Regions from separate parts of the Homo sapiens genome. Here all the other regions are linked to region 2. Evidence: promoter capture Hi-C in 16 types of primary human blood cells and fetal thymus (Javierre and others, 2016). All regions are on one chromosome and are shown on one strand. The core of a region is centred on a gene start or on the middle of the fragment in contact, and the rest is flanking DNA. Distances in the headings are between cores, read along the strand shown.

The links. Contacts are between HindIII fragments. The CHiCAGO score rates a contact against its expected background, and 5 or more counts as called.
Region 1: a contact is called between a fragment that was not itself captured here and the fragment with the promoter of PALMD in region 2, in 3 of 17 cell types (naive CD8 T cells, M2 macrophages and neutrophils). The highest score is 5.8, in naive CD8 T cells.
Region 3: a contact is called between a fragment that was not itself captured here and the fragment with the promoter of PALMD in region 2, in 1 of 17 cell types (neutrophils). The highest score is 6.2, in neutrophils.

Annotation. Positions count from the first base shown.
Region 1 is chr1:98,764,130-98,768,839 of GRCh38, forward strand. No RefSeq gene overlaps it. Among named protein-coding and RNA genes, the nearest start is that of SNX7, 100 kb to the left of the region's middle. The HindIII fragment of the contact is 842 bases long and covers 2,325-3,166 here.
Region 2 is chr1:99,643,775-99,648,191 of GRCh38, forward strand. It overlaps PALMD (palmdelphin), which reads left to right and starts at 2,339. Exons shown (of 8, transcript NM_017734.5): 1 at 2,339-2,588. The coding sequence starts at 2,544. The HindIII fragment of the contact is 18,161 bases long and covers 1-4,417 here.
Region 3 is chr1:98,741,151-98,746,066 of GRCh38, forward strand. All of the region lies in intron 8 of SNX7 (sorting nexin 7), which reads left to right. Among named protein-coding and RNA genes, the nearest start is that of SNX7, 82 kb to the left of the region's middle. The HindIII fragment of the contact is 3,758 bases long and covers 732-4,489 here.

The DNA.
Region 1 (4,710 bases), core at 1,496-3,995, 880 kb before region 2:
AAGGGGCTGCTTTATCCAGAAGAAAGAAAAGTACTGGGGAAGATAGAGTAATACATGTCCACACGATAATTTTAAATGAACATACATTTTTATCTATCTAAAATTATATTAGTTCTATATATTTATATAATTAACACTTCTTACGCCTAAAATTCTTCAACAAGCAAGGACTCATGTAAAAATAGCTCTTCGAAGAATATCTATTCAAGATTACAAGTGTGAATAAACCATTAGTCCAGCACATATAATTACGTAGGAAGTCAATCATAATTGTGTTAGCTAAAAAATAGCACAAGACTGTGAAATTAGAGTTGTTAGTGCATTCATCTGTATTAAAAAATCAACCTTTACGTTAGAATTGATTGAATAAGGAGTTCAATATGTAAGAAATATTCTTATGTGGAAATACTGAATTAAGATTCCATTGAAACACATGAGTTGTTAGAACTAGAATTAAATTCTGAACATACTGTAAAAAAAAAAAGTCATTTTAGCATTTAAAATTCTGAGTTTGTGAGTTAACTATTCTAGGCCCCAATTTCCCATCTGTGGAAAAGGGGAATTAATCTGCCAGATCTACATTGCTGGAAAGTGTAAGAATAAATTAGAAACAGCTGACTTTGACTACTTACTTTGAATTTAAAAAGTTAAGTTCTGCCTCAGCTTCCCCTTGTTACCTATTAAATCTTTGAAACTCCGAATCCCTTCATAGGTGAATCCTGAGATAAAGCAAACAATAGTCATATTTACCAAGGCATGTCATAGTAAGATATGTTCAGAATGTCATGCATATGTGTCAATAGAAATAGATATAGATACATATTTAAGCTCATATTTATATACATGATATATATGTGTTATGTGGCGTGTTTGTATACATGTGTGGTGTGTGAATGTATATAGTGATCAGTGGAAAGACGGGAATAAAAATCAATGGAGCAGGAAGCCAACTGCATGCCTGCTGTTACTTATCTCCCAGTCTTCATGTGTTACAGTTCACCTAGGTTTGATTATGTATTTATGTGCCTGTTCATAAGGTTATTGTGCAGTGAGATCCCTTAAAATGGGACAGCTATTTAAATGTGTTTGCCATCACTTTTGCTTGTGTAATTCTTTAAGGCTATAATTACATACGTTCAATTTGTACTTCTGCAATTCCTGTTTATATTTCTCTTAATGTAAATCGTGAAGATTGAAGAGATTGTTTGTGCTTTTTATCTTAAAACATGACAGGGTAATCTTTTGGTAAGATCAGAAGAACAATGCTTTCCCATTTTAAGGGGAATCATCCCACAACATGCAATTTAATAACTAATCAGAGCTGGTTAAATGAAGTGTTTGATAATTAGGCATCAGAAATTTTCTTTTCCTACTTGAAGCATTATGATTACTGATTTTAAGATTAAATTAGTGTTGCTTTTAAGTGGTTTATTTGAACAATCTGAGATTCTAAATTCTTTTGAAGGACCTTGCATTAAAATATTATCCATGCATCCACTTATTCAGTAATTCACTAATTCCACAAATACTCCACTACTAATAGGTGCCAGACACCATCCTCTGTGTTGCTGTAAATAATTATGATAAGTAAACATACCCTACTCTCATAAAGCTAAAAGTCTAATGAGACAGACATCATACAATAAATAATAAATAAATCTCGATTAATGCATATATTATTTCCTAGGGATGCCTTATAAAAGTATCAAGAACTGGGTGGCTTACAACAATAGACACTTGTCTCACAGTTCTCAAGGCTAGAAGTGGGAAATCAATGTGTCTGCAGGACTGTGCTCTCCCTGATGGTTCTAGGGGTGAATCCTTCTTTGCCACTTCTAGCTTCTGGTGTTTGCGAGCAATCCTCAGCATTCCTCGGCTTGTAAAGGCATCACTCCAATCGCACGGACATCTTCTCCCTGTGTGTCCTCACATTGTCTTCCCTCTGTGTCCCTGTGTCCAAATTTCCCTTTGGCACAAGGACACATGTCTTACTGGATTAGGGCCCACCTTAATGACATCATTTTAATTTGATTGCCTCTATAAAGACCCCATAGTGAAATAAGGTCACATTCTGAGGTATTGAGGGTTAGGACTTCAACATATGTTTTTTTGGAAAGGAGACACAATTCAACCCATAACAATGCATAATTGCATATTGTGTGAAGTGCTGTGATGTAAGAGAGGTAATAATGTGGAGCATCTATTTTAAATTGAGTAGACAGTGAAGCACGACTTAAGACCGAGAAAATAAGAACAAACCAGGCAAAGGGGAGTAGATTGTGGCTGAGTGAAACAATGCATGCAAGGGCCCAGAGATGGGAAAAAGCTTAATGCATAGGAGGAAGTGAAAGAAAACCAGGGTGTCTGGGCTGTAGTGAGCAAGAAAGAAGAAGTTCCAAGATGAGTTGTTGAAACTTACCGGAATTTGTTGTTGTTGGTTTATTTTTTTGTTTTTTTTTTAGGAATTGTGAGTGATTACCAGAACTTGGTTGGGGATAGCGTGAACTTCTAAGGGACTCAATCAATATGGTTTTTATTACCTCCTTTATAGTGAGTGACAAAGGTGGGGATATTGGAGAACATACGAAGCTAGGAACAGCGGAAGAATTAGGAAACCTAAAGCATAAATAAGAACATCAGTAGAACTAATAGAAATTCAAGATACCAGGCTTCAAATTGTCATAAGTAGTGTTCATATTCAGGGAGGTTTGTACTAGTACAGCCATACTTGTTATTTAACTATTTGATGCTATCCAGAGACATATGCCAGTAGGAAAAACAAATCATTTAAATACTTTGATAATAATTGCTAAATAGCTGCTGGCATAGGCCTCCAATCACCCCACTGACTCGTGTTCTAGAACTGTCCCCAGACAGATTGTCCCCAAGTTTCAGAAATGAAAATGTCTCATGAGACAGTAGGGGCCTAGGAGACCCCTGCATTAGCTCTTTATTCGGATTAGTTCTTTAGATTAGTTCACCCATGATACACTGGATATATCATAATAAGAACTTTCAAACGTGATATTCAGACATAAATATATAGAAAGGCATTTTTCTCTATATATAGATATGTCTCTATGTCCATATACATGTGCATGTGTGCAAAAATATATATGCAAATATGTTTGCACACTTGCATGTATTAGTGAAAATTAGCAGAATAAGCTTAAAAGTTAATTATTTTATATGTCTGTCTTTATATGCCCATAGTCTCTGAAATCTTAACGATCCACGGAGACGCAAAAGCGTTAACTGACAGGGTAGTTGTAGGGGCTAGAGACAGAAATGTAGCTGGGTAAACAAAGAAGCAGAAAATCCAATAAACGACCAGGTAGACTTTGATTCAGGCTGGTATTCACTTCCAAATTGGTCCCTTTCCACAGAGAAAATATAAGAAGTGGGAGGCTGAGGCAGAGGCAAAGCCCAATGTCCAGATAAACAACTGCATCCCCATTCCAGGAAAGCAGCTGAGACATAAAGGACAGGATCCACTGCACATGGGAGGGAGCTGGGGCAAGGTGGATTCCAGGCAGGTTCCAATGTAAGTGGAGGCATGGAAGGCTAACACTCTCAAATAAGTGGGATGCATTTGGCCGTGATAGGGAACTGACTCTAGCAGGTTAAAATGGAGAGAAAATGTATCCTCATTTAACTAGGAAGTCACTGAGTAGAGTGGGCTTTAAGATCAGCTTGATCTGATTGCTCCACCCCTGTTTCTCTGCAGTTCCCTGGTCTGTGAGCATGTTGCTTATTGGCTTCCTTTCCTTACAGTATGAAAGTGACTTGGTGGCTTTTAATTTTGTATCCATATACATGGTATAGAAAGGAAGCAGGAAGTTATCTTTTCCAATGGTTACTTTTTTAAGAATAGGAAAACTCTTTTCCAGAATACCCAACATTCTCCTTGTGTCTCATTTCTCCAAATTGAAATTTATGCCTATCCTGAACAAATCCCTGTGACTATTTTGTCACACAGTTGGCCTAGGCCTGAGTTTCTAAGCTAATTCCAAACTAGGGGAATGAGATTACTTTTACTCTATTTAACCTACTCCTGGATGTATTACCAGTTTTTAAAATTACTGTTTAGCAAAGGATCTTTTGCTTAGATTCTCTCTCAATTTTGTTGAAAGTAAATAATCAGAAAAGGATTTGATGCCCTGGTATTAGAGTGTCTCAGACTGGGAGGCAGACTCCAAGACAAAATTAGAAATGTCAAAGATTGATAGAAACTATGGGTATAAGAGATAAAGAAGACAGGGCCAGAGAAAGGCTTCAGACTGCCATGCAAGTCTGGATCTATGAGGGGAGAGGTGAAAGGAGAAGAAAGTTGGTTCAGAGGGCCTCAGAATACAGCACAATTCTCAAAAAGTCTTAGGCCAAAGAGATTCCCAGAGCAAAACTTTTCTGTTATGGATCCTGGCCTGGCAGAAGTGACCCCCAGCTCTGGTACCTCTGCCAGGCTGTCACTGGCTGAGAGCAGTCTGGGGGAAAGTAGGATGTTTGCATGGAAATCGCAGTGGATCTGAAGATGTGGCAGTCGGGGGCTGCCTGCTAACTACACTTCTCATGACAGGGTCTCTCCTGGAAGAAGAGCTAAGCTACAGACTTAGCTGCTGTCTAAGTGACTGTCACACAGAGTTTTTCTTCTCTTTTTAGTTTCTGGAAAATAGCACAGATTTTACCAAAACTTATTGAATGACAATGACT
Region 2 (4,417 bases), core at 1,089-3,588:
AAAATTTCTCCTCTCCTGGAACTTACATTCTGGTAGACAATAAAAGATTAAGTAAACAAAATACAGTAGATGTGGAAATGATGATGTTATTCTGGATCCTATAAGAAACAAATGCCAAGATGGGTTAAATGTACAGAATTTTATTAGGAGAAATGACTGTATGAGAGAACATGGGAGGACAGGCAGAAAAGGCTGGAGCTGGACATGTCTAAGAGGCAGGTGAAAGAGAAAGGGAGGCGAAGTTGAGTGGAAACATCCTAATCTGTATTGCAGTCCAAGGGAGATTGTCAAGACCATCAGAGCTCTGGCTCCAGGATTCCACTCAGGTCCCCCAGATTTTCCCAGCTCCAGCCTTTTCTGCCTACCACTCACATGATGATACCAATCAGTTGTTGCAACTCTGCTCCCTCCTAAATTCCCATCCTCTTTTTTTAAATCTTGTCCTCCCCTACACTAGCAAAATCTTGGGTTTTCCTCTAGCAGAAATGAGATTTGAGAGGTAAATTGTTTTTAGGAAAAGATCCAGACTAATAATTGGATGACTGCCCATTTGTTCTAGGCACCAAATATGCAATTCTGACTGAGATATTTATCATTACTGCTTTCTTGTCTTTAATTTCAGCCAGGATCTACAAATAAACATAATCAGAAGTCTTGAAGGTTTGATTTTTTTTACACTTAAATATGTTTCCAACAGTAATCAAACTTGGCACACATCCAAACAATCCTCCCATTCTCTGGTCTCCCTAAGTATCCCTTCTGAGGGTGTATGAGCAAGGACAAACTACTCTCAAGTATAATTTCAGACTCTTAAAACATGGGTTTCACCTTATAGTGACTGACAGAATGAGGGCTCTGTGGTTGGGGAACTCCAGTCAACAATGTGGGGAAACCTCAGTAGGGCCAATAAGTTTCTCCAGAGGACATTCCCACACCGTTCTGCCTTAGGCTGTTACACCCAGCTGTAGTGTTCTAGGAGCTAGACAGAGAAGGAGGCTGGGGGTCCAACCACTTCTCATAAAGACTGACTTAACCTTCAGCCTGTGCCTCTCCTTGCCCCGTGTCCTTGGGCAGTCCTTGATGAATGCCACTTATAAAGTCAGGCAGCTGGTGTTCCAATCCTGGCTTTGCTACTTACTAGCTATATGGCAAATTACCTCTCTGAGCCTGTTCCCTCATTTTTAAAGTAGGGATTATAGCACTTATCTCTCAGCACTTTGCAAGTATGCATTTACCTGTAGAAAGAATGCAACAAATATTAGCTATTATTATTACTAATATCAAAACTGCAAAGGAAATTAAACCATATGTTCAATGTTTGGGTTGTCCTTTTAACCTCTTCAGCTGAATGTTGATATGAAAGCGCTTAATAGCATTCAAACACATAATAATAAGGTAGTTGGTAATTAGGATTTACTTCAGCAAAATTTAATTAAAGAACCTGTAGGGAAAAGAAAACAGACAGAGCCAATTGTACAGCTTCCCAGCCTCTGCTTTGACCTAAGAGTCTCACTGGGCTTGCCTGCCTTTTTCTAAAGGATGGGCGAATATTCACACAGTGCCGGGCTCCAGGCAGTTACCAAATGTCTCATCACATTTTCAAAGGCTCACTCCTCTCTCTTGCGTAACCGGTGAGGTCAAAATGGGCACCTTCCTGAAAGCCAAGAGTGTCATTTCTGAACAGCGTCCAAGAAAGAAAACTGCATTCCATAGAAATCCAAGTCAAGCAATAACAAAAGGTGGCACTTGGTGCTTAAGCCACACTAAATACCTTGGTGGGCCAACTTCTTAATATAGTCACATTAACACCTTTGATTTCTCCATGACCTAAAGATTCCAAAGTTTGCAACAAAGTGCTGAGCAGGGGGGTCGGGGGTGGGGTGTAGACGGGGGAGAACGAACCAATGTAAATTTACCACTACATGAAGTTTAAAGTAGCTATAGATTGTTGTATTATTATCAAATCCAATCAGTGGAAGAAAGGCAAACAAGTGACTTGGCACTTCTGCCTCAGTCAAGGTAAGGCTCTCTCCCCTAGAGCTAGCAAGCAGGTAAACGAGCTTTGTACAAACACACACAGACCAACACATCCGGGGATGGCTGTGTGTTGCTAGAGCAGAGGCTGATTAAACACTCAGTGTGTTGGCTCTCTGTGCCACTCCTGGAAAATAATGAATTGGGTAAGGAACAGTTAATAAGAAAATGTGCCTTGCTAACTGTGCACATTACAACAAAGAGCTGGCAGCTCCTGAAGGAAAAGGGCTTGTGCCGCTGCCGTTCAAACTTGTCAGTCAACTCATGCCAGCAGCCTCAGCGTCTGCCTCCCCAGCACACCCTCATTACATGTGTCTGTCTGGCCTGATCTGTGCATCTGCTCGGAGACGCTCCTGACAAGTCGGGAATTTCTCTATTTCTCCACTGGTGCAAAGAGCGGATTTCTCCCTGCTTCTCTTCTGTCACCCCCGCTCCTCTCCCCCAGGAGGCTCCTTGATTTATGGTAGCTTTGGACTTGCTTCCCCGTCTGACTGTCCTTGACTTCTAGAATGGAAGAAGCTGAGCTGGTGAAGGGAAGACTCCAGGCCATCACAGTAAGTCTGCATACAGTTATAACTCATTAACGTTGTTACTTAGAGGAAGGCAGACCGTGGCCGGCTGCCCCTGTCGCTGAGCCCTCGCAAGTGGAAAAACAGAACTGTCAGCCTTCATGGACGAGTCTCTGTTTCTCTCTTAACCCTCATGACCCTCTGTAACTCTGGGGCTTCAGAACCTGAGTGCAGGGCAAACGTTCTTGATTTTCAAAAAGGCTGTGCCTGCATTTTAAACAACAATCAAAAGCTGTTAAGGCAGTCTGATTAACTATCTTTCACACTCTGTGGTGTACCTTAGAAATGCAGTTTTTCCTTAAATGTCCATTTGACTGGCATTAGATAAAAAAACAGATCCCCAACTTGGAAACTTTTTTAAGCTATGAATGCCTCAAAAAGTTAGAATTTTTTTTAAAGAGAGAAAAAGAAATTTTAAAAATGACCTGAAACTTTATATTTGTAGTGTGGTAGCATGTTCCAGAAAGCCTAAAATAATTAAAATGAATGTTAATATACGTAATTTAAGCATTAAACAAGAGAAAACTAGGTAAAAGCACGTATCAGATTAATTCTAAGATATCAGTTTCCAGCAGAGTCACAAACTGAATAAGATCCTGATAAAGGAATGCAGTGCATGCAGTGGATTTGGAAAATATTTTGTTAATACCGAGAAGGAAAATCGTACATTTTTTATGTTTGTTCCGGGAAAAAGTCAAAGCCAGAAATAAATTACTTTTCTTAAATGATCCAGCTTTCTTTTTAATTTTATAAAACCCTGTATTTGGCAGTAACTTGGAAATCTGTGTCACAATCATTTATCCCTAGCTATAACTTTTGATGTAATTGTTTTAAGAAGAAAAAGATCTTTGGAAAGCAATATCCCAATTTCTCAGCATTTTCTGCCACTGACATTAGGTATAGGAAAAAAATGAGTACTTTTTAAAAACTGATGCTAGATCAGGGATTTTTTGTTGTTGTTCTTAAAATTTTCATTGCATAACTAATTATGCTAATCCTAATTTAGATTTTTTACTAATTGATACAATATCTTAGTTTCACCCAGGAAACATTCAGTAAATTGAAATGTCTTCTTAGCCAATAGTAAGACACCAGAAGTCTATTGATAAGGTTGGCACTTTTCCATAAAACAATGCTTTGTTAAATGTCTAGCTTCTAATTATTACATTTTCCTCTCTTCAGAAAACCTTGGTCGGGATTATTGTTTGTTTTGTTTTGTCCTTTTTTGTCATTAAACTCAGCCACCATCTCAGCTGTCCTGCTTTAAGGGACAGGAACTCGGCTCTGCTCTGTTGTTTTTGGCATGGGCCTTTTACATTACAGCTGTTGTCTAAAGGTTACTTTATTAGACTGCGTGAGTTGTGTGGTCACAGGCTCCACTATTTCTAATGCTTATATCTCCTAATTAGCTAATTGAAATAGACAAGTAGACCCTTGTTCTGAATTTGCCTCTTTCAGTTGGGGGACACCCTCGCTCAAGCCCTTTTTCCCTCCAGTGTACCTTATAACTCTTACCAAAGCCACACATGTTCCAAAGATATGGCTGTATACAGTTATTTCTAAGGCTAGGAATCTTAGTCACTGAAGGTTCCAAACGCAAATAGAGACAGAAAATCCTCATAATGTCTTAAAAGCCATCAAGAGAGTAAGTAGCTTCCTGAATATGCAGATGTATGCTTTTTTGATGATTAAAAAAATTTTTGGATTATTCCATCAGCCTAAATATATCCCATTAGAAAGGATTAAACAAATCTCCCAAGTAAGATCACAAAGTAATTCTAGCTTGGAAGTAATATACTTGTATAAAGGTTGTA
Region 3 (4,916 bases), core at 1,361-3,860, 900 kb before region 2:
TACTTCTTTTTTCATCAGTATTCCCAAAACGGTCTGTTCCTAGTGTGATGGATGAAACAGGGTATACATACATTTGCCTTTGGATTTACCTGTATTAAGTTCTGGTCACAGATTGTTTAGAAATTAAAAGTTAAATATCAAAATGGCAGAGGGAAATTATATTATAAATACATGGTATGGGTCTGTATCCAACTCCAGTTATTATCATATTGTGCAATAATTGTGTCATGTTATATTTAGAGGCATCTATTACATCTAAGAACATGTAATAATCAATGTCATGTTGTACTTAGATGTATGAATTTATTGGGAGAGAGTTGATTCTAAATCCAGAACAGGTGTCTCAAATGAAACTTTTACTAGGTAAAATGATGTTGTTCCCATTTTGTTCTGTATGACCAATAATTAAGGATAAATGTGTTGAGTCTTTTTAAACAAATGAATAACGAAACAATAAAATTACAAATCCATTTGAGCAGGGTGAATGATTTCAAAGTATATTGATACCCAAATAATGAAAGAAAATGACTTCCTGCTAATGTGAAGGGATTCTAAAACAGTAAAACATCCATGCCCTGGATACAGGGCATGGATATTTCCTAACTTTTTTCTTGAAGGTGCAAAAGAATATCTGCTTTGTTGCTGTCAATGCTGATGATGCTAATGATGAAGGCTTGAGAGCAAGTGATTCCTGGCTGATCTTATGAACTGGAAGAGCACATTCTTCTCAAAGCTTTATTTTAATATCATTGAATTCACTTGGCTATCCAATGTCCTCTTACAATTAGACTTTGAGGGCTTATTTGGAAATTCTGGCAGGAAAGTGCAGCTATTTAGGAACTGCTTTAGAATAGCTCTGGACTTGGCAACAGCTATTAATATAAAATAGAACAATTACCTTTTGTCAGTATGAGCACAAAAAATGGGGAACCATTTACCCAGTCCAGTGAAATCACCTTTGTTATTAAGGAGGTGACAGACAGCTCTGATGTCCTTTTGGTCATTTAATGTCTTTGCTTTCTTTGTCTCTAACACATCAGGGACAAGGTGGATAGTAAGAAAGGGTAGGGAATTCACAAATATTCCCAATGATGAGGGTAGGGCTAGTAAAGGGAGCTATGTTCAAAGGTGTCTATGGCACATAGCAGATTCTTAATGTGTGCCTGCTAAATTACCATTTCTGAGTACCTGCTGTGATCCGGCCCTGCTCTATATCTCACATGTGGCATCTCACATGACCGTATCTGTTACTCTTGGAGATAGCGCTGTCCTCTCTGCAGTCTTGCTGGCCCAAGTTTCTACTAATGTTAATTTTTGCCAAATTACGCAGTTTGTCGTTAAGTGAATATGATAAAGGAATATAGTTTATTCCTTTGCATAGCTTATTTTATAATATAGTTCATTCCTTTGAATAGTTTATTTTAAAATTATTAGTAAATATATGGAAATGCTTGTTTTATTATCTTATTTTTCTGGTTATAAAATTAATACAGGCTCACTGAAAACAATTACAGCAACAAAAGCTCAGTACACAAATGTATGATGAGGATAAAGAATACCCATATAATCCTTTCTCCTAGGGAGTGGTTCATTTAAATATAATTATAGAAAATAATTTGCTATTTTAAGATTAAATTATTGTTAGATTTTCTGCATGGGTCTTTGGAATGTGTCAGCATAAAAACACATATGTTTACTTATTTTGTGTCACAATGATTAAAATGAATAGTATTTTGAGTTCCATATTTTTCATTTATTTTACATATGTTTCCACATAGTGTCATAATTTTCTTATGATACATCATACTGATGTATATTTATTAGCTTAGATAATAATAGTTAAACATTTGTTTTTTTTCTTTTCTTCTATCATTACTATTAAAAATAATTATAAATATTAGCTTTTTGAAAACTTGGTAAGAATTTCAAGAAATAAGCAGGTCTATCTATGATTACTGCATTTCTTATTCTATCAGTCTTATTTAGGAATGTCAGTTCCCTCATGTAAACTCATTTATGTGAGATTCTGTTATCATCAAAGCCCTGTGCTAATAAACACAGGGGTGGCGTGGCATGGGGAGAGGTGATCCAAATTCACACTTAAGTCTTGCTGTTAGGAGGCTAAAGTTGATTAGGGAAAAATAATATATAAAAATATTTATTCATTTATTTGATTAATACAGCCCTAAAGTTATTTTTTTCTAATGGTGAAGTATTTAAATTAGTTTTTTTGCTTGATTGTAATGGATAGACTGAATAAAAGGTTCTACTCTTAGCAGATAACACAAATATATTTATATGGACATCTAGCAAGCAGAAAAACAATTCTAGCAAAGGAAAATTTCTGAAAGATTTTGAGGAAAAGAAAAAAATCGTTACAAGGGTATCTGTCTAGCCAGATGAACAGTACTACTAATGTTTTCTTAAAATCCAAGTCTAGTTATTTATGGCTCATTTAAAAATTACAGAAATTTTGTAAAAATAGATCTCACAGCAGTCCTCTAAAAACTAAGTCTGAATAAGCACTGAGTGTCCAGAAGGTTCTTCAAGTGTAGTTTTACTTATTTAGGGATTTATTTCTTGTTGTGTTGGGAAAATGGTGAAATAAATTCTAGTGACATGGTTGTTTGTTTTAAACTTAATACTACACTACATACTTCGGAACATTTTGTAGATTTTGTAAATATTTACTTGAAAACATCCTGGTCCAAATTAGGACAATTTCCAAGTATTCTGACCTTAAGAGGTTAAACTATATTGATAATGATGATAAAACTGCTACCTAAGCAAGATTTGGATGGATGGCATTTAGATTCCTGTCAGAAATTTCATTCTATTCAAAACTGAAAATCAGAAAAAGTATTGATATGTGCTCATCTGTGAGTTGAAAGGAGCAATGAGGGGAATAGTCTCCCTAGACTTAATTCTGATTAACAAAGAACTGTTATCTTAACATGACAGTTCCATCAGGAGACAGTACTATTTCCAGAATCTGGGAGGTGAAAGCAAAGGAAGGAAAATTTGGCCATTCTCAGTCATATTTCCTAGAATTTAGTAAAGTAGCTTAAAAAATTAGATAAAAGTTAGTTATACTTTCTCAAAATCATACACTCTAAATGAGAATATGACTTGAGAGGAGTGGACAATTCTAAAAAGTGAAAAGAATGAAGCAGGTGAAGAATCTGACACAATTGTACCTGTGGACCATGGATCATGGAAACAAAGATGATAGAGGAGGATACAGTCAAGAAGGAATACAGAAAAAAACAGGCAATGTCAGTGAAAGCATATGTCAGGAAGAAGAGAGTTTTGGGGGAAAAAATGTGAAGAGTTTCCAAACAGCACCAGAGTCAAATGAGAGTAGGTATGAGGAGCATCTCTGGAAGCAAGAAAATTAGGAATTAATATGTTACCAAAAATATTAATAAAAATGAATTGCTAGTGGAAACTGTGTAATGGAAACTAAGAAAACAGAACTAACTCATTTCTATTTCACTGCTGTTTTCTCCATGAAGGAGAATGAAAGTATAAGATGAAAGGATTAGGCAAATACAAATAAACGTTAACTAAAATCCAATACATTTGAAGAGGTAATAAAACAAAAACTATCCATTGCTGCAAAAAAGAGATGGCTGGGTATCTTCTGTTTTTCAGTGAGTGGTGCAAAAGCCCACCCTTTACCAACCTGAAAGCAGTACTTACAAAGCCCCAGTTGAAGCCCTTAATTCTAAATTTACTCATAGAAGGAAGACTGACAGACCTTTACTTACCCAGAAGAAATGCAGGCCATGTTACTTTCCTAGGTGAATCCTAAAATTACCCCCAGAGAAGGTTTTCAACAATACTGGAACAATGTTTCCAAAGTAACCTCCTCTGTAATTTCTGATACACACCATGCACAGTCATCTAATACTTGCTCAACCCTTTGTCAATAGCCTGTCTTAGAGAAGGATGGATATGGTAGGAGAGTTACCCAGATAGAGTTGTTCAGCATAGTTTTGAGCCTAAGAAATGGCAGGTAGTGTTTGAGTTTTCTTTTAAATTGTTGCAATAGAGGTGTAATAGATGGTCTGTATTGAATCATTTTTTTTTATGTTGGCCATAAAAAAGGCTCCTAGGCTGAACCTCTGTCAAGAGGCACATTCTTTAAAGTTAAATTCTCTTTCCTTATTATGAAACAAAGAAGTTGACTAGAGCTGGAATAATCCGGAGTTATCCAGGACAGGGAATTTTGAATCCATAACAAGGTGCATTTCTTTTTACAGTCATGCCTCCTAATAGTTACTGAAGCCTGACCTAAACCCTAGACCTCAGGAGACAGACGCCCTGATGGTGCTAAAATGGGCCTTCAGAAAAGAGCAGTCTATATCTTTGGAACTATGTGCAGAATATCTCAGAACTACATTATACACCCTAAAATTGAATAGATTCCACTTACATGTAGGCTATATTTCTGGCAAAGCAAACACACCAGCTTGAGAGGATAAGAAGCTTAGAAGTTTACTCAGTCTAGCCATTTTTATACCAGTTAACTTTTCCAATTCGTTACATCCTTGTACCTGCATTATCTTACCGTCTTATTCATTGGGAAGTACTCACTGGAAGCCTGAATGCATTAAGAAATTCAGGTTACATCATTGCTACTTTTCTGTGGATCATCTAATTTATTTAGGGATGATCATCAAAAGGAAAACAACAACTTTTCATCTTTTTAATGCCATTAAATGGCAACACATTTAATAGAGTTTTCTCCTTGTGTTTCGAGAGCCCAGCATTGTTATTGATTATTTAATGATTAACCTTGTCCTTTTAACCAAATATGTCACTTTTTTGTTGAGCAATCAGTTCTTTTTTCAAATAGAATCTGAAGGCACATAGAAATGATCAGAGCAAAAGATACAGAAATGGAATAGCCT